Regions from separate parts of the Homo sapiens genome. Here all the other regions are linked to region 4. Evidence: promoter capture Hi-C in 16 types of primary human blood cells and fetal thymus (Javierre and others, 2016). All regions are on one chromosome and are shown on one strand. The core of a region is centred on a gene start or on the middle of the fragment in contact, and the rest is flanking DNA. Distances in the headings are between cores, read along the strand shown. Region 1 overlaps TMEM145 (transmembrane protein 145). Region 2 has its middle 30 kb from the start of POU2F2-AS2. Region 3 overlaps LNROP (long non-coding regulator of POU2F2). Region 4 holds the start of CD79A (CD79a molecule).

Region 1 (6,231 bases), core at 58-2,557, 440 kb after region 4:
AACATGGTAAAACCCCGTCTTTACTAAAAATACAAAAAAATTAGCCAGGCATGGTGGTGCACGCCTGTACTGCCAGTTACTCGGGAAGCTGAAGCAGGAGAATAGCTTGAACCTGGGAGACTGAGGTTGCAGTGAGTTGAGATCGTGCCCCTGTACTCTAGCCTGGGCAACAGAGTGAGACTCCATCTCAAAAACAAACAAAAAACAACAACAACAAACAAAACAAAAAAACACCCAAAACTATTGTAATTATTATCGTTCACCATAACATAGCAATAAGGTTGGCAGATTCTGAGCCAGACTGTCCGGGTTCAGATCTCAGCTCTAAAGCTTATAGATGATGTGACCTCAGACGAGCCCATTAACTTCTCTCTGCCTCAGTTTCCTCACCTTTTAATGGGGATGGAAATTTTATCTGCTTCATAGAGTCACTGTGAGAGTTAAATGAGTTTATATACATCAAATGCTTAGAAACAGGCCTGGCATGCAATAAGTCCTTACTTCTTATTATCATTTGTTCATTCATTCGTCAAATATCTATTTTTTTTTGTTTGTTTGTTTTTTGTTTTTGAGACGGAGTCTTGCTCTGTCGCCCAGGCTGGAGTGCAGTGGCACGATCTCAGCTCACTGCAACCTCCGCCTCCTAAATTCAAGTGATTCTTCTGCCTCAGCCTCCCGAGTAGCTGGGACTACAGGCGCATGCCACCACACCCTGCTAATTTATGTATTTTTAGTAGAGATGTGGTTTCCACCATATTGGCCAGGCTGGTCTGGAACTCCTGACCTCAGGTGATCCACCTGCCTTGGCCTCCCAAAGTACTGGGATTACAGGCATAAGCCACTGTGCCCGGCCTGATTTCTTCTTTTTTTTTTTTTTTTTTTGAGATGGAGTTTCGCTCTTGTTGCCCAGGCTGGAGTGCAGTGGTACAATCTCCGCTCACTGCAGCCTCCGCCTCCCAGGTTCACGTGATTCCCCTGCTTCAGCCTTCCAAATAGCTGGGATTACAGGTGCATGCCACCACACCCAGCTAATTTTGTATTTTTAATAGAGACGGGGTGTCACCATGTTGGTCAGGCTGGTCTCGAACTCCCAACCTCAGGTGATCTGCCTGCCTTGGCCTCCCAAAGTGCTGGGATTATAGGCGTGAGCCACCGTGCCCGGGCTGTCTATTGATTTCTTATCAGATGCCAGGATTTGGGGTGGTGTGGAACTGAGTTAAATTGAACCTCCTTCTTGCCCCTCAGAATTTCCCAGTCCAGTCCTGCCCCATTTCAGTCTCTGGCTTCTGAAGGTCACACTGGCTTCCCTCCAGTTTGGGACCTGCCTGGGGTCTGCGTGTGTACATGGCAGGCGAGGTGGGGCTATAGGGTGGGGTGGAGGACAGGAGCAGTGTCTCTACTGACCCAATACTTCCCCTTCAGGTTCTTTGCGGTTCCTGTCATGGCCCTGATTGCCAATTTCGGCATCCCCAAGTGGGCCCGGGAGAAGATTGTCAATGGCATCCAGCTGGGGATCCACTTGTACGCCCATGGCGTGTTTCTGGTGAGGATGGGCATCTGTGGGGGGTGGAGGGGAGGACCCGAGGGCAGAAGATGTGTGAGGCTCCTACACCTGATCTGCTGGACCTCCTGTTCTGAGGTCTTGATCCATTTTCCTTTTAGTCATTCTCCCTTTATTGAGAGCCTGCTTGGTTCCTGCAGTCTCCTCTATTGTGCTCCTCAGAGTCCATTTTCTTCTCTTTTTTTTTTTCGAGACAGAGTCTCACTCTGTCTCCCAGGCTGGAGTGCAATGGCTTGATCTCGGCTCCCTGCAAACTCCGCCTCCCGGGTTCAAGTGATTCTTCTGCCTCAGCCTCCCGAGTAGCTGGGATTACAGGTGCCCACCACCACATGCAGCTAATTTTTTGTATTTTTAGTAAAGGCAGGGTTTCACCATGTTGGTCAGGCTAGTCTCAAACTCCTGACCTCAGGTGATCCACCCGTCTCAGCCTCCCAAAGTGCTGGGATTACAGGCATGGGCCACCTCGCCGGGCCCATGCCCATTTTCTTCTGTTCCCCTCTCCAACTTTGTGTCCTGGCTTCTTTCCTCAACCCCCATCCTCTCTCTTTGCCCTCCCTTCCCATTTCCATTCCTGACCCTGTGTCCCCAGATTCTTCCATTTCTCTTTTGTATCCCCACTGCCTTCCCCACCCTCCTTGATCTCTCCACTCTCCCCCTGCCCCTGCCCAAATTCTGCCATCACAGGCCACTGTTCAGGAAGAAGCATCTGGGGTGGCACAGGGTGAAGCTTTTGGGCTCCTGGGTCGGCAACAGGAGGGTACAGCACCACATCTTTTTTTTTTTTTTTTGAGACGGAGTCTCACTCTGTCACTAGGCTGGAGTGCAGTGGCGCGATCTTGGCTCACTGCAACCTCCACCTCCCAGGTTCTCCTGCCTCAGCCTCCGGAGTAGCTGGGACTACAGGAGCACGCCACCATGCCCGGTTAAGTGGTTTTTTTTTTTTTTTTTTTTTGAGACGGAGTCTTGCTCTGTTGCCCAGGCTGGAGTGCAGAGGTGCGATCTCGGCTCACTGCAACTTCTGCCTCCCAAGTTCATGCCATTCCCCTGCCTCAGCCTCCCTAGTAGCTGGGACTACAGGCGCCCACCACCACGCCTAGCAAATTTTTTTTGTATTTTTAGTAGAGACGGGGTTTCACTATGTTGGCCAGGATGGTCTCGATCTCCTGACCTCATGATCCGCCCGCCTCGGCCTCCCAAAGTGCTGGGATTACAGGAGTGAGCCACTGCGCCTGGCCCCCACCACGTCTATTCTTTGCCCTGGTTCACATCCTATCTGACATTCTTGGTGACAGTTCTAATATTCATTAATTTATTCATCAATTGTTCACTGGGCACCTGTCTTGAACCAGTCTGTTTCATTCTAGGAACATCCATATGCATTTACTCCTGCCCTCTTGTTTAATTGTCAGAGCAGCTCCAGGAGAGGGTGGATAATTGACATTGTTCCCACTACACAGAGCGGGGAAGCTAAGGCCCAGAGAGGAGAAGTGACGTGCCAGGGCTCCGTGGCCTTTGGCGGCAGGCAAATACTTTGAACCCTATCCTTCTCCAGCAGACCACAAGGTCTGAAATGAAGGGGAACCAGAAAGGGCAACAGGCATGACCCAGTGTCCCAGCTTCTGACTCCAGGGATCTACAACGTACCCCGTGTAGGGAGTGGGCCCAGCCACCGAGGGAGGGGACAGGTCCCCATCCTTTGCCTCAGAGGCTGACATAGGTACAGACTCGCTCACCTTCCCAGGCTGGTCTATCCTGAAGCTCTGCAGGAAGTCAGAAAGGGACAGAAAGAGGAGAAATGCTGAGAACCCATCATGTGCTGGGCTCTGCACCAGTGGTTTTCATTTCCACCCTCTCATCTTTCCAAGTAGGCGCTACAGTCCCTTTTCCCCACAGCGAGGCTCAGGGAGTTTAATCAACATGCCCCAGATCCCATACTCAGTGAGCTACAGATCCCAGAGGCGGGATGCAGGCTCAGAACGGCAAGCACAGCGCCCTTCCTGCTGTATCTCAGCCAGCTTCCTTCCTAAGGATGCTCACGTTAGCTCAGCACAGCTCCACCTGGGTATCTCAACGCTCATTGCTTTCAGCTCCTTGTTCATTTTTTTCAGCACAACCTTAGAAGAGCTGTGTTAGGTTTCCGGGATATGGCGGTGGAGTCACACCCAGTCCCTGCCTTCACAGCCTATCAGACTAACTGGTACCAGACATCCCTACATTCCACCAATATTTATTTATTTATTTATTTATTTTAAATTTTTTTTTTTTGAGATGGAATCTTCCTCTGTCGTCCAGGTTGGAGTGCAGTGGCATGATCTCGGCTCACTGCAACCTCTGCCTCCTGGGTTCAAGCAATTCTCCTGCCTTAGCCTCCCAAGTAGCTGGGATTACAGGCGCACCACCACACCTGGCTAATTTTTGTATTTTTAGTAGAGATGGAGTTTCACCATGTTGGCCATGCTGGTCTCAAACTCCTGACCTCAGGTGATCCGCCCGCCTCGGCCTCCCCAAGTGCTGGGATTACAGGCGTGAGCCATGGCGCCTTGCCCACCAATATTTACTGAAGGCTTATATGCGCCAGGCATGGTTCTAGAAGGTACTAGGGACTCAGTAGGGAACAGAAGAGTCTGGTTCCTGCCTCATCGAGACATTTTAGAGTCTATTAGTTGCTGTCCAATTGAACTTTCTGTATTTATGAAAATATCCTATTACCTGCACTTTCCAATATGGGAGCTACTAACCACATGTGGCTGTTGAGCACTTGAATGTGGGTAGTGCATAGTGAGTGTGTAGTGAGGAGTGTGACCAAAATTTAAATTTTATTTTGATTAAATTTAAGCTACATGCAGCCAGTGGCTATCATACAGTGCAGGACGCTGACCCTAAGCAATCAGTGACAGCTCAGTGATCAGGCCTCTGATGGAGGAAGCACAGGCCGAGTTTTGTTGAAGGGAAAAGGTGAGGGTCCAGGGCATTTGGAGAGCCCAGAGGGGACGCCTAATCCAGTGTGAATGGCTTCAGGGAAGTGTGGTGGATGTCAACTGAAAGGGAATCCTTCGGACCCCAAGTTTATGGGGACAGCCTCCGGCCTGACAGTGCCTCTCACACCTGCTCCTGGCCCTGGCCTCAGATCATGACCCGCCCATCAGCGGCCAACAAGAACTTCCCGTACCACGTGCGCACGTCGCAGATCGCTTCAGCCGGAGTCCCTGGACCCGGAGGGAGCCAATCCGCTGACAAGGCCTTCCCGCAGCACGTCTATGGGAACGTGACGTTTATCAGCGACTCGGTGCCCAACTTCACGGAGCTCTTCTCCATCCCCCCGCCCGCCACCTCCGTAAGCCCCGCGGCCCCAGCGCCCGAGGAGCTGCTGGCGCCGCCCCTGGAGTACCTGACCCCGCTCCCGGCCCCGCCGCCGCCCCCAGCGCCCGGACCCCTGAGCCCTCCTCCTGCCTTTCGCACTCCCCGCGCCCCAACACCGCGCCGCGACCGTCCCCTGGCGCCCGCGCCCACCCTGCCTGACTGGGTTCTGGCGCTGTTGCGCACACCCCCGCAGACTCCCTGCGCCGTGCCCCCACCGCCCGCCTTCCGCGGCTCTCCCCCAGCTCCCCGGCCGCCGCCGGAGTTCGCCCCGCGCGCCCCGACGCCGCCCTTTGAGTACCTGGCCCCGCTGCCCAGGCGCCCCGCCACCCAGTCCTTCCCTGACTGACAACGTGCGTCCACACCTGGGGTGGAAGGGTTCTCCGGGGGAGGGGGACGGGCCTTCGGGGCCGCATCTGCCCCCCGAGGGTCCCGGACGGCCTCTGACCCTGACCCCCCTCCCAGGCCGGGAAGCAGGTGGAGGAGACAGCGGTGGCGGCGGCGGTGGCCCCGAGGGGCCGCGTGGTGACCATGGCCGAGCCGGGCGCAGCCTCCCCCCCACTTCCCGCTCGGTTCCCCAAGGCGGCCGACTCGGGCTGGGACGGCCCGACGCCGCCCTACCAGCCGCTCGTGCCCCAGACGGCAGCGCCGCACACCGGCTTCACCGAATACTTCAGCATGCACACGGCCGGGGGCACTGCACCCCCGGTCTGAGCACCCCTGCCCGCCCCTGCCCCATGGGCCATGACCGGGCCCCGGCCGGGCTCCGGACCCCTGCTTTATCCCGGCCCGAGAGCTCGCCCATCCCCGGCCTTCCCGACCCTTCCCACCCCGCGCGCCCAGGTTGGGTACGCTGCGTCCCGCCCCCCTCCCCTCTGTGCCAAACGGTCCCGCGGGAGCCGCTCTCCCCGTCCCCTCCCTCAGCCCCTGCCCCGAGCGGCGCCGGATTCTGGGCTCCCGCTGTTCCGTGACCTCCGGCCCCCTGGCCCCCTTCGAGACCTCTGACCCCGCTGGACTCCGGAACACCCGTGGTGACCGCCGGGACCCTGCCTGTGACTCTCCAGGACTCTGCGACCCCGGGATGGATATTGCGATGCTGGTCTCGACCCTGAAACCCTCCCTCGGATCTGTGACCTCGGACCCGTACTCCATCTGCCGCATCTCCATTCCGGGGGCCTTCCCTCGGGTCCCTGGCAGAAAGACATTTTACCCCTTCTTGCCAAAATAAAAAAGGATTCGTTTTTATCTATAACATGGCTTCTTTTGCATCTTGATGGTGTTCAGCGGCGGGGCTGAGCCAGAACTATGTCAGG
Region 2 (6,798 bases), core at 427-2,926, 300 kb after region 4:
GGGAGGGAAGAACAGCAGAAAGGAGAGGAGTGGGGAAGGGAGAGGAGGGGAAGAAAGAGAGGAGGGCAGTGCCCAGTCACCAAGCACCTCCCCTGTGCCAGGCACATTATGGCTTGGAGACAGGGAGGAAGGAAAGGAAGGCCAAGGGTGAAGGGGCTCCGACCAGGGGAAGGTGGGCACAGGGTCTTGGGAGGGTGCATGGCTCCCGCCCCCTGCAGGCGGGGGTGCAGTGGTGCAAAGAGGAGGATAGGGTTGCAAGTGGTACCCAGACCTGGGAGGGGGTGTGAGAGGGAGGGAACAGGAGGGGGAAGGCAGGGAGGGAAAGGGAGGAGGAGGAGGAGGACGCAGGCACGCGCTGCGCGGTCTTGGCTTAGCAGCTGCAACCGCCCTTCGCTTTGTTACCAGCAAGGCTACCCCATGCATACTGAGTGGACACGCGGGACCCTCATGTGTGTGTGAGAAACACGAGAATCACCAACTGCCCACGTGTATGGAGAACGCTCCCAAGACCTACACTGGAAGTGCGTAACATAAATAAATATAGGAAACACCTACCCCGTGGGCGTACAAAGTAAGTACCCAGGACCTGTGCAGCGTGTGCATAATAGACACAGAACTACCTACTACTCCCTGTACGGAGCAGCCTCCTGGGACCCGCACTGTGTGCGCAACACAAATAAATGCAAGGAATACTACCCTCTGTCCATACAAAGTAGGTATTTGGGTCTTATGCAGCAGATGCATAATGGACATGGGACCACTTAATACCCCCATACAGAGCAGACTCCTGGGATCCACACAGTGTGTTCACAACACAAATAAATACAGGAAACGCCCACTCCAACTGCACACAAACTAGGCACATGGGCCTACAGGGCATGAACATAGTGGACACGGAACCACCCCATAGCCACCTACCAACCAGCCTCCCTGGGACCCATACTGTGTGGGCACAACATAAATGAATGCAGGAAGTACCCTATCCCCCATGCCTACAAAGCTGGCACACCAACCTAATAGACTTAGCTAGTGTGAACATAAGAGACACCCATGAGCAGGTTCTGGTGATCCACAAAGGCACATAACAAAACTGAACATAAGAAACACCCACTCCGCTTGCATACAAAGGCACATGGGGTCCCAATAGTGAGGAGAGAACTCAAAAAAGGGTGTATATAATGACAACCCACACACTATCCATTCTGGAAGGAGCAACAAGGAATACTGGACCCTGCAATGAATCTACCCAGCAGACTCCCAGGTCCCTCCATCTGTACGTGTACAATAGACCTAGGAGGAGCTATGGACAGCCTGAGTACCTACTAGAAGGGAAGCAGGGACAGGGCAGAGACCAAGGATGTCCTGTTCCCTGCCTTGGCCCTGGCACCTACAAGGACCAGTACATGGGTGGGGTGGGGGGCGGTCATCCTTCCTAAGAATGACCAAGTACATAATAATTGTGTATACAGTGAGTATACACTAAGCACACAGCACCAATGTTTGTCTGTTTGTTTGTTTGTTTGTTTTGAGACAGGGTCTCCCTCTGTCACCCAGGCTGGAGTGCCGCAGCGTGATCATGGCTCACTGTAGCCTCAAACTCCTGGGCTCAAGCAATCCCCTCTTGCCTCAGCCTCCCAAGTAGCTGGGACTACAGGCATGCACCACCACACCCATCTATTTTTTTTTTTTTTAAGCAGAGATGAGGTCTCCATATGTTCCCCAGGCTAAAGCACCAATTTTAAGGATCCAAAAAACTTGGTTTGATATGTGCTAAGTCCATATCATATGCTTACTTGCCAGTATGTTAAGAGTCTGTGGTCCACAACCTATGCATGATTGGTATCTTAATTATCCAGAATATCCATATTAAGCAGAAGCTGACATCCCTCATGGACTTACAAAAGTCAGATCCAATAGGAGACTTAAGCAATCCGCACATGCAGGTTGTCCTAACTGATTTCTAGGGCTCCGCCCAGCCCCGAGTCATGATTCCACGAAGGCTGATGCAGCACATGTATACACACCAGGCACATGCAAAGACGTACACCATACACTGTACACAACACAGCAAAAACATGTGTGCTCTCTCTGCTTCTGAAATAGCATAATTCCAGAAGTACCAGATTCCTCTGAGGAATGTGTGTGTGTGCATGTCTGAGTGAGGGCCATCTCTGGGTACAGGTGTGCATGTACATGGCTCTTCCTGTACGAATGAGCTCAGCTCTTATTCCCTCCTCATTCTGCCTGTTCATCTTTCAGAAACATGTATACAAATAATAGTACCTGATGTATACTAAGTACAAAACATTGCAAGCTATGGATGACCTTAATTGAGTGTGTGCGTCTGAACATACATTTATTTATTTATTTATTTATTTATTTATTTAGAGACAGAGCCTTGCTTTGTCACTCAGGCTGGACTGCAGTGGCACAATCTCGGCTCTCTGCAACCTCTGCCTCCCGGGTTCAAGCTATTCTCCTGCCTCAGCCTCCCGAGTAGCTGGGATTACAGGCGCATGCCACCATGCCCAGCTAATTTTTGTATTTTTTAGTAGAGACGGGGTTTCACCATGTTGGTCAAGCTGGACTCAAACTCCTGACCTGGTGGTCCACCCACCTCGGCCTCCCAAAGTGCTGGGATTACAGGCGTGAGCCAACACTCCCGGCCTTGAACATACCTTTAGATAGATGCATTTGTTCATTAATGAAACATTTGTTCGCGCATCTGTGGCCATGTGTGTGCGTGTGTGTACATCTTGGTGTCTTGGTTACAAGTCTTGGGGCTCCCTTATAATCTCTGAGGATAAAGGGTGTAAGATAAGGGAAACGAAGGCACACAAAGCAGGAAGGGAAGAAACTGGGGAGAAGGAAAAAAGTGGTGCAAGGACAAGGAGCAAAAAGAAGAGACCTGTTATTCAGGAGGCTGAGGCACAAGAATCACTTGAACTCAGGAGGCAGAGGTTGCAGTAAGCCAAGATTGTTCCACTGCACTGCCCTGGGCGATAGAGCAAGACTCTGTCTCAAAAGAGAGAGAGAGAGAGAGAGAGAGAGAGAGAGAGAGAGACCTGGAACTGGAACTGGATGTATGGAAGGAAGGGAGGAGGCCCTGAGGACACAGGCAGAGGGAGATGTGGTGCGGGAGCAAGGAAGAGAACAAGGACAGGAGGAGAATGGGTGTGAGAGAAAAGAGGAAGCTAGGAGGAGGAAGGGAGGTGAATGGTGAGCAGAGCAGAGTGAGGGTATCAGGAAGAGTGAAGGGGACTGGGGAGAGGAGAAAGGAGATGGGAGAAGGAGATAAAGACCGAAGGGAAAGAAATAAGAAACAGACAGAGGCTTTTCTGGTCTGAATGAAATTTAGAGGTTGCCCCAGTGGCCTCCTATGGGAAGGTGTTCGAGTCGGAGGATGAAGGTGAAGCAAAAGAGAGAAAGGAAGAGGAATCACAACCTAGCTCCCTAGGATGGGGCAGCCAGCTGTCTCCATCATCCTAGAAGGGGCCCAGAGACAGGGACCCGGAGGCACAGACAGAGAGGTATGCAGAGCTGGACTGAGATGTGGAGTCATCTGAAGTGGGTAGGGTCCTGGGACAGGCAGGAGGAGGAGTGGAGAGACTTGCAGGCTCAGGGAGGCCAGGGCTCAGTGGTGTGGAGACTTCCAAAGACCAGGAGGAGGCTGGAGCAGGCAATGGAGCAGGGCCCTGAGACCACAAGCGGGGAATCGAAGACCAGGTAAAGGGAAGCAGGTTAGAGAAGGGCAGAGAAGTGAGGGCCTGCTGAGCAGAACCAGCCAAAGTAAATGGAGGAGCAGCTGGAGTGGGATGAAAAGGCCATGAGGCATCTTGCAGATGGGTCCTGCCTTATGCACACCCGGGTTCAGAAGCTCTCCCAGGCTGACTCTCCCCAAGCATTCAGTTTGGTTCCATTTAAGACATGCATACTGAATACTATCACGAATTAGCACTATGCTGTAAGCTGAAGAAACAAATGCAAATGAGACACAACTCTGCCCTCATAGAGACCCTCATCTGAAGTTGTTGGTGGGGGAGGGAATGAACAATAAATACACAGTTACTGATACACACAGCAACACAGAAGTACCTCAAAACCAAAGTGAGAGATGCAGAAGACCACACACTGTAGGATTCCATTTACATGAAATTCTAGACAGCAAAACTACTGTGACGGAAAAGCAAATGAGTGGTTGAAAAGGGCTGCAGTGGAAGGAGGGGACTGACAGCAAAGGCGCCGGAGGGAACTTTTTAGGGTAATGGAAATGTTTTGTAACATGATTGTGGTGGTGGTTACACAACTGTGTGTGTGTGTAAACTCATTAAACTGTACATTTACAACTGGTGAATTTTATTGCATGCAAATTATATCACAATAAAGCTGATTGCAAATAAATAAATAAATAATTACCAGCCAGAATATTCAAGACTCAAGATAGGGCTCTATGGGAGCCAAGAGGAGGTGGATGGGGCAGTGACGGAAGGCTTCTGAGAAGAGGTGATGCCTGAGATAAGACCTGAAGGATAAACAGGAGGCAGGATGGAGAAAGCGTTCCCATGGAAGAAGAGCTTTCACATGGAAGCAGGTGAGAACTGAAAAAAGTTCACTATGTTTTGAACACAGAATGGAGAGTAAGACTATCAAGAAGTGAGTGCAAAGAAAATCAGGGTTCAAAATACAAATCCATTGCTATTCGAAGTACCATGTTGAATAAAACCCACCTGCACCTGAAAAGGCCCAGAGAGAAGGAAACTATGAGACACGACTGGGGATTTTTTTTTTTTTTTTTTTTTTGAGACAGGGTCTCTCTCCTCCCTCTGTCATCCAGGCTGGAGTGCAGTGGCACAATCACAACTCACTGCCACCTCGACCTTCTCCTGCCTCAACCTCCTGAGTAGCTGGGACGACAGGCGTGCACCACCACAACCTGCTAATTTTTGTATTTTGTGGTAGAGACAGGTTTTTGCCATGTTGCACAGCCTGGTCTTGAACTCCTCGGCTTAAGCGATCTACTGGCCTTGATCTCCCAAAGTGCCAAGATTACAGGCATGAGCCACCGCTCTGGGCCAAGACTGGGGATTTCTAATTGGCCTCCTGTCTGCCCCACAGAAAGGTCTCCTTCCTGCCGCCCTTCCCAGAACTTCCTCCCTGCTCTTTTCACATGGGGATGTCTCTCTCCATTAGGAAGCAGCCTCTGCTCTGGACCTATCCCCCAACCCTGCCCACATCTCCAAGAGTTTGTGGGCCCCAGTGAATCCCTCCAACCTGGATTCCATGTGGCCACTGCCCCCTGGTGGCTGAAGTGATGCATGACTAAGGACGAAGGGACACCTCCAAGTCCAGGCCCAGCATGCCCTTCCAGAGGCCAGTCCAAGGCACTCCCACTACTGCCCCCCAAGACACACCCTTGTCCCTGACAGTCTCCTCCTTGCTAAATCCTACAAGCACTTTTCAGTCCTATCTGACTCTCCTCTGCAGCATGCAGCCACAAATATCTTTTCAAAATCCTCTTGGCATCTAAGAAACCTCACTCTCTTGGTTCTCCAGCTCTGTCTGGGCTGCTCTCCCAGGGTGAATCATCCCCTCCCACAACTGCTTTCTCTATGCTGGTAATCCCTAAATTTGTCTCCAGTTTAGCCCTCTCTCCTAAGCTTCACATCAGGATACCCAGCCACCTCCTAGAGGTTCCAAAAATACCTCAAAATCAACATGTCTAATCTAATCATGTCATCTTCTCTACCATGCCCCTAGACCTTGGTTCCCACTCCCCATGGTGATACTCCATCCAATCTAGCATTCAAGTCAGAAAAATTGTCCCTGTCCTTGACACCTTCCTCTTCCTCATATTCACATCCAATCAGGATTGAAATCCCATCCAGTTCATTTACTTCATTAATATTAAAATTTTAAACCATATGAAATTGACAATATCACCCAGCTTTTTCTTACAAAATGGGAATTTCATAGAGTTCAACCGAGTATTTCTCAAATCCATCTCCTCCTCTCTTCCCTGCTCCCAGTGTCCTAGTTCAGGCCTCCACATCTCCTGCTTGGCCCATGAATCTCCTTACTACCTGGCCTCCCAGTCTCCCCTCTTGCCCCCTTTCTAGTCTATCCTCCACACTGGCTACTGGGGTAATGTTTCTACAATATGGCTCTGATCAAATCACTCCCCTGCTTCAAACTCTTACTTCCTGTTGCACACAGGACAAAAGCCAAACTCCTTAGTCAGCTTTTCAGACCCTTCACAGTAACTGGCTCCCCTCCCTCTACAGGGAGCACCACTATGCATCCTGTACTGCAACCACACCAAACCACCACCACTTCCTTGAATCTGCCCTTAACCTCTTGGCCTTTGTACTTGCAGTTCCCTATAACTGGAATGCCCTTCTCACTCTTGTCCCCCTGGCTAACTTCTATTTGACTCCAAGAACCAACTTAAAATCATATGTTAATGTAAACCTCCAGTTCATCCATTCATCCATCCAATACACACAGCTTGAGTATCTATACTTGTATGACCTCCATAGAAGGTACCGGGGACACAAAGGGGAATAGGACACAATTCCTGCCATCAAGAAAGCTCACGGTCCAGTAAGAGACACAAATGCATATATAAATCACAACACTATAGTGTGCTAGGACACAAAACTAGACTGGGAAAATTGAATTTTACTTATTTTTGAGATGCCGTTTCACTCTGTTGCCCAGGTTGGAGTGCAGTGGCACTATTATGGCTCACTGCACACTCGAACTCCTGGGCTCATGTTATCCTCCTGCCTCGGCCGCCCC
Region 3 (6,679 bases), core at 3,288-5,787, 260 kb after region 4:
AGCCTCCCGAGTAGCCGGGATTACAGGTGCACACCACCAGGCCAGGCTAATTTTTGTGTTTTTAGGAGAGACAGGGTTTCACCACATTGGCCAAACTGGTCTCGAACTCCTGAGATCATGTGATCCACACACCTCAGCCTCCCAAAGTGCTGGGATTACAGACATGACCTCAAGCCTATTTCCTGTTTACACACCTGCTTTGCCCTCTAGACCCGAAGTGCCCCTTTGCTTCTCCAGCAGCCCTAAGTCAAAGTCAAGTTCTGCTTAGGAGTATCCAGCATTCAGGGACTTAAAATATATCTTCCTCTTTGTCTTCATTAGCAGCAGCAGCCCCCACAGCATTGTGGTCTATGCTTTCCTTTTTTTTTTTTTTTTTTGAGACTGTCTGGCTCTGTCACTCAGGCTGGAGTGCAGTGGCATGATCTTGGCTCACTGCAAACTCTGCCTCCCAGGCTCATGCCATCCTCCCACCTCAGCCTCCCAGATAGCTGGGACCACAGGCGTGCACCACCACATCCAGCTAGTTTTGTATTTTTAGTAGAGACATGGGTTTTGCCATGTTGCCCAGGCTGGTCTCAGAACTCCTAGGCTCAAAGCCATCCACCCGCCTCAGCCTCCCAAAGTGCTGAGATTACAGTCGTGAGCCACTGTGCCTGGACTACTCTGTGCTATTTGAACCAATATATTATTTCTAAGTCCTCATGACAGTCTGAGGAGGTAAAGGTCTGCTATCATCCTCATTTTACTAACAAATTGAGCCTCAGAAAGGTGAAGTCTCCTGCCCCAAGTCACACAGCATGAGTGGTGGAGTCAGGATTTAAGCCCAGGTCTGTCCCCCTGACAGCTTGATCTCTCTGTACTGAGCCATGGAGCTCCTTCTTGGAGGCGTGAAATGCTCCCCATCCTTCAGGAGACAACAGCAACAGCCAGCCACTCCTTGTCCAGTCAGCAATGCTGGAATACCTCTGCAGCTCACAGTCCAACGCCCACAGCCTTCGAGTCAGTTTCTTGATATTCGGCAATGCACTGGACTCCTGATCCCATCAGCTCCTGGCTGAAGGTGGGCCAACCCTTCCCCATTTCCTTCAATTCAAACATTTCCTCATGTCCCTCAGTGCCAAGCCCTGTGCTGGGAGCTGAGGACCCAGAGGTGAGCTAGATCTAAAATCTGACCTCAAGGAGCTAACAGTCTGAGAGGAAGACTGGAGTGGATAAAAATACCTTGGTAATTTATCACTTAATAAATATCCAATAAATGCTATTATGTGCCAAGCCATTGCTAAGCTCAGAGAATACAGTGGTTAAAAGCAACCCATAGAGCTTATAGTCTTTGGGGGAGAAATAATTTTTAAAAGTTATCAACTAGCAGGGCATGGTGGCATACCCCTGTAGTCCTGGCTCCTCTGGAGGGTAAAGCAGGAGGATCACTTGAGCCCAGGAGTTCAAGGCTGCAATGAGCTATGATGGCACCACTGCTCTCCAGCCTGAGTGACAGAGCAAGACTCAATCTCTAAAATAAATAAATAAATAAATAAAATAAAAAATAAAAAGCCATCAAATAAATATGTAATTCTAAGTTAGGAAAAGTGATTTCAAGAATAGGTAGAGGAGGGGCTGGGCATGGTGGCTCACACCTGTAATCCTGGCGCTTTGAGAGGCTGAGGTGGGAGAGTTGCTTGACACCAGGAGTTTGAGACCTGTCTGGACAACATATCGAGACCCCATCTCTACAAAAAAAATTGTTTTAACTTAGCTGGGTGTGGTGGTGTGCGTCTGTAGTCCCAGCTACTCGAGAGGCTGAGGCGGGAAGATTGCTTGAGGTCGAGGCTGCAGTGAGCTACGATCATGCCACTGCACTCCAGCCTGGGTGACAGAGAGAGACCCTGACTCTTAAAAAAAGTAGAAGGAGGATACCTGATGTAAACAAAGGATGGCATGTTGCAGAAAACTGTCCCAAGGAAGTGACATTTACATAGCAATTAGACACAGTATTCTCGAGGCAAAGAATGTGAAGGAAGACACTCCAGGCAATGGGAACAGAGGAGGCGATGGCCCCATGGAAACAAACAGTGTGGCAATTCCAGGATCAGAAAGGAGGCCTATAGAGCTGGAGCAGAGTGAACAAAGAAGAGAAGATAGGAGACGAGGTGTGAGGTGGAGAGGCGGCCAGGGCCAGATCGCACAGGGCCTTGCAGGCCAAGGTAAGAATTTGGGACTTCAAGAACAGTGGGACACCTGAGAAGGTTTCAAGCAGGGGAGTGGCATGGTTCTATGAACACTTTTGTGACAATCCTGGCTGCTTTGGAGGCCGCAGTGAAGAACCAGAGGATGGAGTGTGGGGGTCAGCGTGAGGAAGCTGATGAATTCCACATCACCATCAGGTGATGATGACAGGAAGCAATAATTGGTGATTGGCTGAATGTGGGGCATGGGAGTCACGGAGAAGTCAAGAATGAGGTCCAGGTATGTTAAAGTATCTTTCCTGGCACAGAAGATTGGGGCAGGTGGAAGAGCTTAAGCTCAGGTAAGAAAGATCAGGGTAGGACCTGAGGTCCTGAAGGATGAAAGGAAGGGCAGGAGGTGGGAAACAGCATTCAAGGGGGTTGCCAAGGTTGAAGACCCCAAGGTGGAGACAAACTTGGCTTTCCCAAGTTTGTCCTCAAGTTCCTTTGAGGTTGGATTTGAAGTTGCAGGTGGAAGGCTTCTGCGCAGAAGCATTCTGTGTAAGGAAGTTCTACTGGGGACAAATGTGGGGACCGGCTGGTAGCATGGAATCTGGAGACAGGATGACCAATGGGGAGGCTGGGACAGTGGTCCAAGGCGGCAGGGGAGAAAGGAGCCATGAGGATTAGGATGAGGATACATATTCAAGCTGGAGTCTACAGGAACAGGATATGAGAAGTGGGTGCTGGGCTGGGGTGGCTGGGTGGATGCGAGGCCATCACTGAAAGACACAGTGAGAAGGGAAGCAGGGGGAAGACACTTGGGTCAGTTCCAGGGGGAAAGTCAGGAAGCAGCATCTTCCAAGAAGCAAGGTCTGTGGACCAGAAGTCAGCAGATGCTTAACAAATTCACATGGATACAAACATTCCTCATCATATCTCCCCACCACAGCCAATTTTCCACATCCACCAGAATTCCCAGTTCGCCTCATGTAAGAAAAGAAGCACTGTGATGTGGCTCAAAGAAGATAAAAGAAGACTAACTGGCCGGGTGTGGTGGCTCACACCTGTAATCCCAGCACTTTGCAAGGTCGACGAGGGCGGATCACCTGAGGTCAGGAGTTCAAGACCAGCCTGGCCAACATACAATAAAACCCCATCTCTACTGAAAAATACAAAAATTAGCTGGGCATGGTGGCGCACGCCTGTAGTCCCAGCTACTTGAGAAACTGAGGCAGGAAAATCGCTTGAACCCAGGAGGCGGAGGTTGCAGTGAGCTGAGATCACACCACTCTACTTCAGCCTGGGTGACAGAGCGAGACTGTCTCTGAAAAACAAACCAACAAATAAAAGAAGACCAACCAGTCCCTGTTCTGAAATTCGCCCTCTAGTGACCTAGGGCCAGCCCCCTGAACTCCCTGGACCTCAGTTTCCCCAGATATATGTCTGAGATGGGCTGGAGAAGCACTCTAAGACTTCTTCCAGCTTGAACATTCTTTTATTTTATTTTACTTTATTTGGCTCACTGCAACCTCCACCTCCTGGGTTCAAGTGATTCTCTTGCCTCAGTCTCCTGAGTAGCTGGGGCTACAACCATGCGCCACCATGCCCAGCTAATTTTTGTATTTTTAGTAGAAATAGGGTTTCACCATGTTGGCCAGGCTGATCTCAAACTCCTGCCCTCAAGTGATCCACCCACCTCAGCCTCCCAAAGTGCTGGAATTACAGGCATGAGCCACTGTGGCCCGGCCCCAGCTCTAACATTCTGTAGCTTGAAAGAAACAAGAACGGGTGAGATGGACTGACGGCTCAACTGGCCATTGACAAATAGGGAGGTAAAGCATGGCCAACCTACTCTAAAGAGGCCCTGGCTGGGTATACTCGGCAACCCACTTACTCCTCACTGTCATCTTATGAGGGAGAGACCATTATCATCCTCACTTTAAAGATGAGGAAGCTGAGGCCCACAGTCACACAATGAGGCTGGAGTGAACCCAGAGGCTTGTTGACCCCAAAGCTTGTGCTTCAGCTGTTTTGTTGAGCTCACTGCTCCTCAACCTGGCTTGTGTGAGTCTCATTCAGACTGCAGATCCCCCAGGAACAGGGTCCCTTGGCATCCACTGCCATGTGCTCACCAGGGTCTCTGAATGACCTGTGGGAGCAGGCGCCTGGCCCTGGGTCTTCCTCAATGAGGCTCTGCCCTTGGCCCAGGAGTCCCTAGCCCCCTTGCTGCTGCCCCCAGGCTTTCCACAGCCCACATGCGCACTTCCTGTTCTCTAGCTCCCACTGGGCGCAGCACCAACTCTGCAGGCTCAGAGGCCGCCGCTGTCATCCCAGCGCAGGGAGCTGTCCAAAGGCTGAAAAGCAAGAGCCCATGGCCTTGGTCCAGAGCCCTCCAGTCCTGCTGCCCCCAGGACAAACCCAGTCCCCTTACTGTGGCCTCCAGGGCCCTACAGGACCTCCCCGCTGGCCACAGGAGTACCACACCTCAGCCACACTGGAGGAAGCTAATTTTGTCCCCAACATGGGGCCTTCAACCTTGCCAGCCCCCTTGAATGCTGTTCCCCACCTCCTCCCCTTCCTCTCATCCTTCAAGACTCCACTCAAAGGCCACTCCTCAGAGAAACCCTCCCTAGTCATGCTCCACTCCATTCCCAGTTTTATTTCCTTCAGAGCACTCTGAAATTCAATTGCCGCCTATTTGCTTTACTGTCTCTTTCACCCTCTAAAATGTAAGCTTTCTGAAGACAGGTGTCCTTTTCTGTCTTGTTCACTGTGGTATTCTTGGTGCTTTAACAGTGCCTGGCATATAGTTGATGCTTGAACCTTACTTGTTGAATGAATAAATCCTTCCAGGCACCCATGGTCCACAGAATAAAATCCAAGGCTGGCTCTCCAAACCCAAGTGGATATGGTGCCTCTCAACCTCCTCAGCTATCTCACCCTCAGAGCTCACCTTTCTCCTCTGTTCAATAACTTGGGCTCCCCTATGTGTCCCATCCCTCATGCCTGCTTTGTCTGCCACAAATTCTGTACACACCAGCCTCTGCTCAAATATCCTCTCTCTGGAAGCCTTCCCTGACCTCAGTCTTGCCACAGCTCCAGGTAGTATCCCCGGGCTTTAGCACTAATTGTACTGCACTGAATCACTTCCCAATGAGGCTGTACCTACAGACTGTGAGCTCCTTGAGAAGAGGGCTCAGTTTGACATGTTCTTGTAGACTCAGCACCCAGCACTGGGCCTGCATTTAGCTGAGGCTCCAGGAATGTTTGTTGGGTAAGGACAACTGCCCTGCAGATGGTTAACCATCTATACAGGTGAACATAATGACTAGTTTGGTAGTCAATCAGATGAGGGTTTGGAATCTGGTTCCTCCATTCATTTGCTGTGTGACCCTGGGCAGGTGACTTCTCTCTCTAAGCCTCAAGCTCCTCATCTGTGAAATGGGGGCAGTAAAATTGGCTGACAGGAACTTAATTAATCTTTTTTTTTTTTTTTTTTTTTTTTTGAGAAGGAGTCTTGCTCTCGTTGCCCAGGCTGGAGTGCAATGGCACAATCTTGGCTCACTACAACCTCTGCCTCCTGTGTTCAAGCGATTCTCCTGCCTCAGCCTCCCGAGTAGCTGGGATTACAGGCATGCACCACCACACCTGGCTAATTTTGTATTTTAGTAGAGACGGGGTTTCTCCATGTTGGTCAGGCTGGTCTCGAACTCCCAACCTCAAGTGATCCACCTGCCTTGGCCTCCCAAAGTGCTGGGATTACAGGCAAGAGCCACCACGCCTGGCCAGGAACTTAATTAATCTTAAATTTAATATTTGCTACCATGCCCTAAGAACAAACATGTTCACTAACTACATCAAGATTTGAGGTTGAGAAAAATAAGAAACAGTCTAGATGCCACCGATAGGACAGTGGCTAAGTAAATTATAATACATTCATACTCAGGAATACTATGCAGTTATGAAAGAGAATGAGACTGATCTATGGATTGCGGACATGAAAAGTTCTCCAAGACACTGTTAAGTGAAAAAGCAAGTTGCAGAACAATTTATACAACTTGATATCATTGATGTAAAACACATACATCTATTTTTAAAAACTGTATCTTTTCTATGGGCGTACAAGTATTAAGCAAATGCAGAAAAAATGGTCTGGAAGGTAACTAATTATAACCTCTTTTGTAGTAACTTCAGTTTTGGTTTGTTTGTTTGTTTTGAGATAGAGTCTCACTCTGTCACCCAGGCTGGAGTGCAGTGGTGTGATCTTGGCTCACTGCAACCTCTGCCTCCCGGGTTCAAGGGATTCTCCTGCCTCAGCCTCCCGAGTAGCTGGGATTACAGGCACGTGCCACCACACCAGGCTAATTTTTTGTATTTTCAGTAGAGATGGGGTTTCACCGTGTTAGCCAAGATAGTCTTAATCTCCTGACCTTGTGATCCTCCTGCCTGGGCCTCCCAAAGTGCTGGGATTACAGGCATGAGCCACTGTGCCCGGCCAGCACTTTAGTTTTAAT
Region 4 (6,419 bases), core at 2,950-5,449:
CTCCAAGGGCTCTGTGCCTCAGAAAAGAGGCCCAAAGGGTTGCACTCTAGCTGCAGGCCAGTCACTCCCCATTCTGGGCTCTAGTTTCCTCTTTTGGCCATTAATGAAAACATTTCCCAGAGCTGACATGAGAACTCAATGCCAAGCGTCCGGTTTGCACAGCAGCAGGCATTGCGCTTCCCAGGTAGGAAGCAAGGTCTAGGTGTCCCGAGCAGGCCTGCAATCCCGCAGCCGCGCCGCTCCAGCCACTGGGGAGCAGTAGAGGGCCTAGAAAGAAGCTCAGCCACCGAAGGCTCTTGAAGGTGAATTCCTAGGGCTTCCAGGTCTGGAGCCAGGCTTATTCCTGGGAGGGGGTTGTAACGGGGAATTGAAGTGCAGAGGGGCTAGTGACCCCAGCAGAACACCTGGGGTCCTGGTTCCCAGGGCTACAGAACTGTCCTAGATACTGTGCCAAATGCACTGCAGAATATTCTTGCAGTCTTATCAAGTGGGGGGTTTGTACCCATGTTATAGGAGAAAAAACTGAGTTTCAGATGACCAGTCAGTTGGCAGAGCTGAGTTGTAAAAGAATCCTGGACTCTTGAGGCCCAGGCTCTTCTGCGTGGATGGGAATTGCCCTTTTCCCATCTCCTGGGTTCACGCCATTCTGCCTCAGCCTCCCCAGCAGCTGGGACTACAGGCACACGCCGCCATGCCCGGCTAATTTTTGTATTTTTAGTAGAGACGGGGTTTCACTGTGTTAGCCAGGATGGTTTTGATCTCCTGACCTTCTGATCCGCCCGCCTCAGCCTCCCAAAGTGTTGGGATTACAGGCGTGAGCCACCGCGCCCAGCTGGCAATTGCACTTTTTTAAAATTCTGCACTCTAGGAGGCAGAGGTGGGCAGATCACTTGAGGTCAAGAGTTTGAGACCTTGGCCTGGAGTGGTGGCTCACACCTGTAATCCCAACACTTGGAGAGGCCGAGGCAGGTGGATCACCTGAGGTCAGAAGTTCGAGACCAGCCTGGCCAACATGATGGAACCCTGTCTCTACTAAAAAATACAAAAATTAGCTGGACGTGGAGGCAGGAGAATCGCTTGAATGCAGGAAGTGGAGGTCACAGTGAGCCAAGATTGCACCATTGTACTCCAGTCTGGGCGACAAGAGTGAAACACCGTCTCAAAAAAAAAAAAAAAAAAGAGTTTGAGACCAGCCTGGCCAACATGGTGAAACCCTGTGTCTATGAAAAAAAAAATTGGCTGGGCATGGTGGTGCACACCTGTAATTCCAGCTACTTGGGAGGCTGAGACAGGAGAACAGCTTGAACCCAGGAGGCGGAGGCTGCAGTGAGCCAAGATTGTGCCGCCACTGCACTTCAGCCTGGGCAACAGAGCAAGACTCCATCTCAAAAAAAAAAATCTGAAATACTTCAGGCATGCAAGTATTTAGCATTCAGTATTCATAATGTAAGAAAAACCTATGAAGCACAACCCAGTTTAAGTAACACAGGCAGGGCAGGGTGCAGTGCCTATAATCCCAGCACTTCGGGAGGCCAAGCTGGGAGAATCACTTGAGGTCAGGACTTCCAGGCCAGCCTGGGCAACACAGTGAGACCCTGTCTTTACAAAAAATTTAAAAAATAGGCCCAGTGCGGTGGATCATGCCTGTAATCCCAGCACTTTGGGAGGCCGAGGCGAGTGGATCATCAGGTCAGGAGATTGAGACCATCCTGGCTAACACGGTGAAACCCCATCTCTACTAAAAAAATACAAAAAATTAGCCGGTCATGGTGGCATCTGCTTGTAGTCCCAGCTACTCAGGAGGCTGAGGCAGGAGAATCACTTGAACCCGGGAGGCGGAGGTTGCAGTGAGCCAAGATCACACCATCGCACTCCAGCCTGGGCTACACAGCGAGACTCTGTCTCAAAAGAAAAAAAAAATTAAAAATAGCCAGGCATGGTGTGTGCACCTGTAATCCCAGCTACTTGGGAAGCTGAGGCAAGAGAATCACTTGAGCCCAGGAGTTTGACGTTATGATTATGCCACTGGACACCAGCCTTGGTGACAGAGAGAGGCCCTATCTCTAAAAAAGAAAAAAAAAAAAGTGGCCAGCCACGGTGGCTCCCGCCTGTAATCCCAGCACTTTGGGAGGCTGAGGTGGGTGGATTACCTGAGGTCAGGAGTGTGAGACCAGCCTGCCCAACATGGTGAAACCTGGTCTCTACTAAAAATACAAAAATATAGCCAGGCATGGTGGTGGCCGCCTGTAATCCCAGCTACTGAGGAGGCTGAGGCAGGAGAATCACTTGAACCTGGGAGGCAGAGGTTGCAGTGAGCCAAGATCACGCCACTGCACTTCAGCCTGGGTGACAAAGCGAGACTCCGTCTCAAAAAAAAAAAAAAAAAAAGTAACACAGGAAATAAAACCAAGACAAGATGAGCTCTCTGTGTCTCTGTGTGTCCCTCCCCAGACCCAACCCTGGCGTCCCCCAGAGGTAACCCCTCCCAGGAACTGGGCGTTTGCCACTCCCCTGCACGGGTCTACACCTCTGCTACAAACGTGTGTCCCTAAGCAGCGGACGCCTTTTGAAAACAAGTCAACTGTATCATGCTACGATATTTTTTCTGATGTTTGTGCTGTTTCTGAGACAGCCTTATGACACCTTCCCCTATTCTGTAGCATTCTGTTGGCTCACTTTGCCACAGTGTATGCACCCATTCTCCCACAAATGGACTTTTCATTTGCTTCTCAATGTTTGCTACCAAAAATCTCCCTGCAATAAATTTATTTTATATATCCCCTTGTATGTGTGTGAGGGTCCCCTAACTGCTCACAAATATCTCAGCAACTCCGCCCTCCCCACTCAGACCTCATTTCCCTCCTACCAGACATGCTCAAAGGAAACTGGGAGCAACACAAAGATGACTTTGAATCTCTGTCCACCACCCCTAGACTGTATGACACCCGCAAGTGACAACCTCCCCTCTCTGGCCTCGGTTTCCCCCTCTGTAAAATGGGGGATGGCCTACCTTGCCAGTCATGGCAGGTCAATATAAAACAACTTCTGGCTGTGCACAGTGGCACATGCCTGTAATCCCAGCACTTTGGGAAGCTGAGGCAGGAGGATTGCTTGAGGCCAGGAGTTCAAGACCAGCCTGGGCAATATAGCAAGATCCCATCCCTCTTAAAAAAAAAAAAGAAGAAAAATATATGTTGTTGTTGTTATTATTGTTATTATTAGAGACAGAGTTTCGCTTTTGTCACCCAGGCTGGAGTGCAATGGTGTGATCTCAGCTCACTGCAACCTCCACCTCCTGGGTTCAACTGATTCTCCTGCCTCAGCCTCCTGAGTAGCTGGAATAATAGGCATGTGCCACAACATCTGGCTAATTTTGTATTTTTAGTAGAGATGGGGTTTCGCCATGTTGGCCAGGCTGGTCTCAAACTCGACCTCAGGTGATTCTCCTGTCTCAGCCTCCCAAAGGGCTGGGATTACAGGCATAAGCCACCATAGCTGGCCTGTTTTTTTAAAAAAAGAATTCCAGTAAAGAGCTGATCATGGTTCTCACTCCTTGAATACCAGGAACACCATCTCGTATCACATAATGAGACAGGGAGACATTCTGGTCCTCATCTCACAGATGAAAAATGTCAAGCTTCGAAGGATCAAAGTGCCCACCTAGTCACACGGGTAGTCAGCCACAGGTCAGCCTGCCTTATTTATTCTTCATGAGTATTTATAGTGACTAACATTTACTGGGCGCCTACTGTGGGCCATTTCTGTGCATGTGACAACCCCTTTAAGTCCTTGTTTCTAATCCCAAGAAGCAAGGAAATGGGGTCAGGGAAGGGACAAGGTTTGCCCAAGTCCAGGCAGGGGGAGAGGTCAAGCTCAGAACCATCACCTGCCCATGACACATGCCCAGGACTCAGGTTCCCTAGGCTTCCTTCCAAAGGCTCAGCAGTGACGAGCCAGCCCTTGAACCAGCCTCTTCCCCCACCCAAGCAGCCACCTCTCAGGGGAATTGTGGCCACCACAGGTGCAGGGAGCAGTTTCTCTCCACTCACAGCCTGAAGCATACCCGGCAGGGGCTGTCCCCAGGCCCAACAAGCAAAGGGCCCAGTAGCGAGGGCCACTGGAGCCCATCTCCGGGGGGCTGGGCAGGAAGTAGGGTGGGGTTTGGGGTAGGGATCTGGTACCCTGGGACTGCTGCAACTCAAACTAACCAACCCACTGGGAGAAGATGCCTGGGGGTCCAGGAGTCCTCCAAGCTCTGCCTGCCACCATCTTCCTCCTCTTCCTGCTGTCTGCTGTCTACCTGGGTATGTGGCCAAAGGGCAGGAACTGGCGGGAGGTGGGGGAAGCTGTGGAGGCTGCAGAGAGGGCACAGGCAGAGGGAAGGGGGCTCAGGGAAAGGGGAAGAGGAGGCAGAGGATAGGGGACCCAGGGAAGATGCCTATAGAAATCGTATCTGTGCCAAGATGGGCCAAGGTGGGGCTGGAGGGAGCCCAGCGAAGGAGAAGGGGCGTCCACAGTCTCACACAGGGAGGCAGGAGCAAGAGTCACCTCCCCCACCTCCTGTTCCCCACAGGCCAAAATAAGGAACTAAAGTTGCTCTTGACTGAGCACCAGGGCTGGGGGCAGGAAGGGGACTTAGGGGTAGCAGCATTCAGCGTCTGTCAAGGGGAGAAAAAGCTTTCTCTGCCTTAAACCTCAGGTGCCTCTCTCTGTTGGGAGTCCCTTCTCAGCACTGGGGGAATGGGTGTCTCATGGACTCCCCCTCACCTGCTCAAGGACAGCTGGCAGGGGCTGTGGCCACGCTAACCCAGGAGTTCAGAGAAAAAGGTTCCCCACCCAAGGGGACACTGGGAGCAAGGATTGGAGTTCACGTCTGAGTCTTAAGCCCGTGACGATGAGGGTGCTCGGCCCCTCTCCCCATCTCTTCCTCCTTCTCTCTTCCTCACCTCCCTCCTCCACCTACCTCCAGAAGAGGGGACTGGCCATGTGGGAGGCCTGGCTGAGAGCTGGGGCTTCCCAGAGGAGCCCGGATTGGACACTGCAGCCAGCCTGAGCCGCCTCGTCTCACTCAGAGACACCCCCAGTCTCCACCCCGCTCTGAGCCCCTTCAATCACCAGCAGCCCAGCCCAAGGACTGAACTCACCCCTGACCCCTAGGTTGACACATACAACTTACAGAGAATGAGGGCCAGGCACAGGGTCACAGGCCAGGGCAGGCCACAGACTGGCTCCTCAGCCCAGGCAGGGAGAGGCCAGGGAGCCAAGAGTTTGAACCCAGTGCCACTCCTGACTGCCTGGTGATGCTGGCAACCCGCCTGCCCTCCCAGAGCCTCAGCCATCCCTCCTGTAAAATGGGGCTAAGGAGAGAACCTACTTCTAGGGTTCTGTGAATGATTACACAAGAAAAAGCGCCAGGTGCTGGGCCTGGCTGAGGCTGGGGTGCAAAAATGGACCGGGAAGGCTGCGGGAGGAGGGGACGCCTGCACTGCTTCTGGAAGGAGCTGTCTGGACAGCGGTCCTCCAGTGCCTGGAACAAACATCCAAAATCCAGAGAGTTCACAGGGCCAGAGTACAAAGTGGGTATGCGGGAGGGGGGCAAGAGATGGCGCTGCAGAGGTGAGAAGGGCCTCCCAGGGGTCTTACCATCCCAGGGAGTCTCATTCTCCTCTCCCAGGATATCCTCACCCACCCCAACCAGGTATGTCCTCTCTCCTTCCCAGGGGCTTCTTCACTTTCCCGCATCCCCCCTCTCCCCAGGATGTATCAGCCCCTGTCAGGGGCTCTCTCTCTCCCTCCCCACCCAGGAGAGTCCTCACCCTCTTCCCAGGAGTGCTGGAACTGCAGGGGCCAGGGCTGGGGAAATGTGTCACCATCCCCAGTCCCTGACCCACCCACCCTGTCTCTCCACAGGCCCTGGGTGCCAGGCCCTGTGGATGCACAAGGTCCCAGCATCATTGATGGTGAGCCTGGGGGAAGACGCCCACTTCCAATGCCCGCACAATAGCAGCAACAACGCCAACGTCACCTGGTGGCGCGTCCTCCATGGCAACTACACGTGGCCCCCTGAGTTCTTGGGCCCGGGCGAGGACCCCAATGGTACGCTGATCATCCAGAATGTGAACAAGAGCCATGGGGGCATATACGTGTGCCGGGTCCAGGAGGGCAACGAGTCATACCAGCAGTCCTGCGGCACCTACCTCCGCGTGCGCCGTGAGTGGCCCAGCCCTGGCCCCTACTCCCACTGTCCCGCTGGGGACACTCGGTTTATCTTTGAAGTGGGGATAGAGCCAGTACCTTCAATGTGGGTTTCAAACCGGCTTGGACAGAGGGACGGACATTCTCCTCTGCAGAGTGGGGTCTCTGGGGGGTCTGGGGCCTTGCAGGAGGTGGGCGGGGCCAGGAGGCTAGGGAGGGCAAGA

What was found. Contacts are between HindIII fragments. The CHiCAGO score rates a contact against its expected background, and 5 or more counts as called.
Region 1: a contact is called between a fragment that was not itself captured here and the fragment with the promoter of CD79A in region 4, in 1 of 17 cell types (erythroblasts). The highest score is 5.2, in erythroblasts.
Region 2: a contact is called between a fragment that was not itself captured here and the fragment with the promoter of CD79A in region 4, in 2 of 17 cell types (total B cells and non-activated CD4 T cells). The highest score is 5.9, in total B cells.
Region 3: a contact is called between a fragment that was not itself captured here and the fragment with the promoter of CD79A in region 4, in 1 of 17 cell types (fetal thymus). The highest score is 5.9, in fetal thymus.

What each region holds. Positions count from the first base shown.
Region 1 is chr19:42,318,895-42,325,125 of GRCh38, forward strand. TMEM145 (transmembrane protein 145) reads left to right here. Exons shown (of 15, transcript NM_173633.3): 13 at 1,423-1,543; 14 at 4,689-4,895; 15 at 5,843-6,170. The coding sequence ends at 5,923. Among named protein-coding and RNA genes, the nearest start is that of MEGF8, 3.6 kb to the right of the region's middle. The HindIII fragment of the contact is 1,958 bases long and covers 329-2,286 here.
Region 2 is chr19:42,179,218-42,186,015 of GRCh38, forward strand. It overlaps a transcript of POU2F2 not described here. Among named protein-coding and RNA genes, the nearest start is that of POU2F2-AS2, 30 kb to the left of the region's middle. The HindIII fragment of the contact is 7,957 bases long and covers 1-5,655 here.
Region 3 is chr19:42,135,828-42,142,506 of GRCh38, forward strand. It overlaps LNROP (long non-coding regulator of POU2F2), which reads left to right. Exons shown (of 3, transcript NR_038332.1): 3 at 845-1,272. It also overlaps a transcript of POU2F2 not described here. Among named protein-coding and RNA genes, the nearest start is that of MIR4323, 5.7 kb to the left of the region's middle. RefSeq lists an enhancer at 3,910-4,411 and a silencer at 4,310-4,604. The HindIII fragment of the contact is 720 bases long and covers 4,178-4,897 here.
Region 4 is chr19:41,873,080-41,879,498 of GRCh38, forward strand. CD79A (CD79a molecule) reads left to right here and starts at 4,200. Exons shown (of 5, transcript NM_001783.4): 1 at 4,200-4,304; 2 at 5,911-6,210. The coding sequence starts at 4,226. RefSeq lists enhancers at 280-529, 2,865-2,934 and a silencer at 4,342-4,401. The HindIII fragment of the contact is 1,040 bases long and covers 3,636-4,675 here.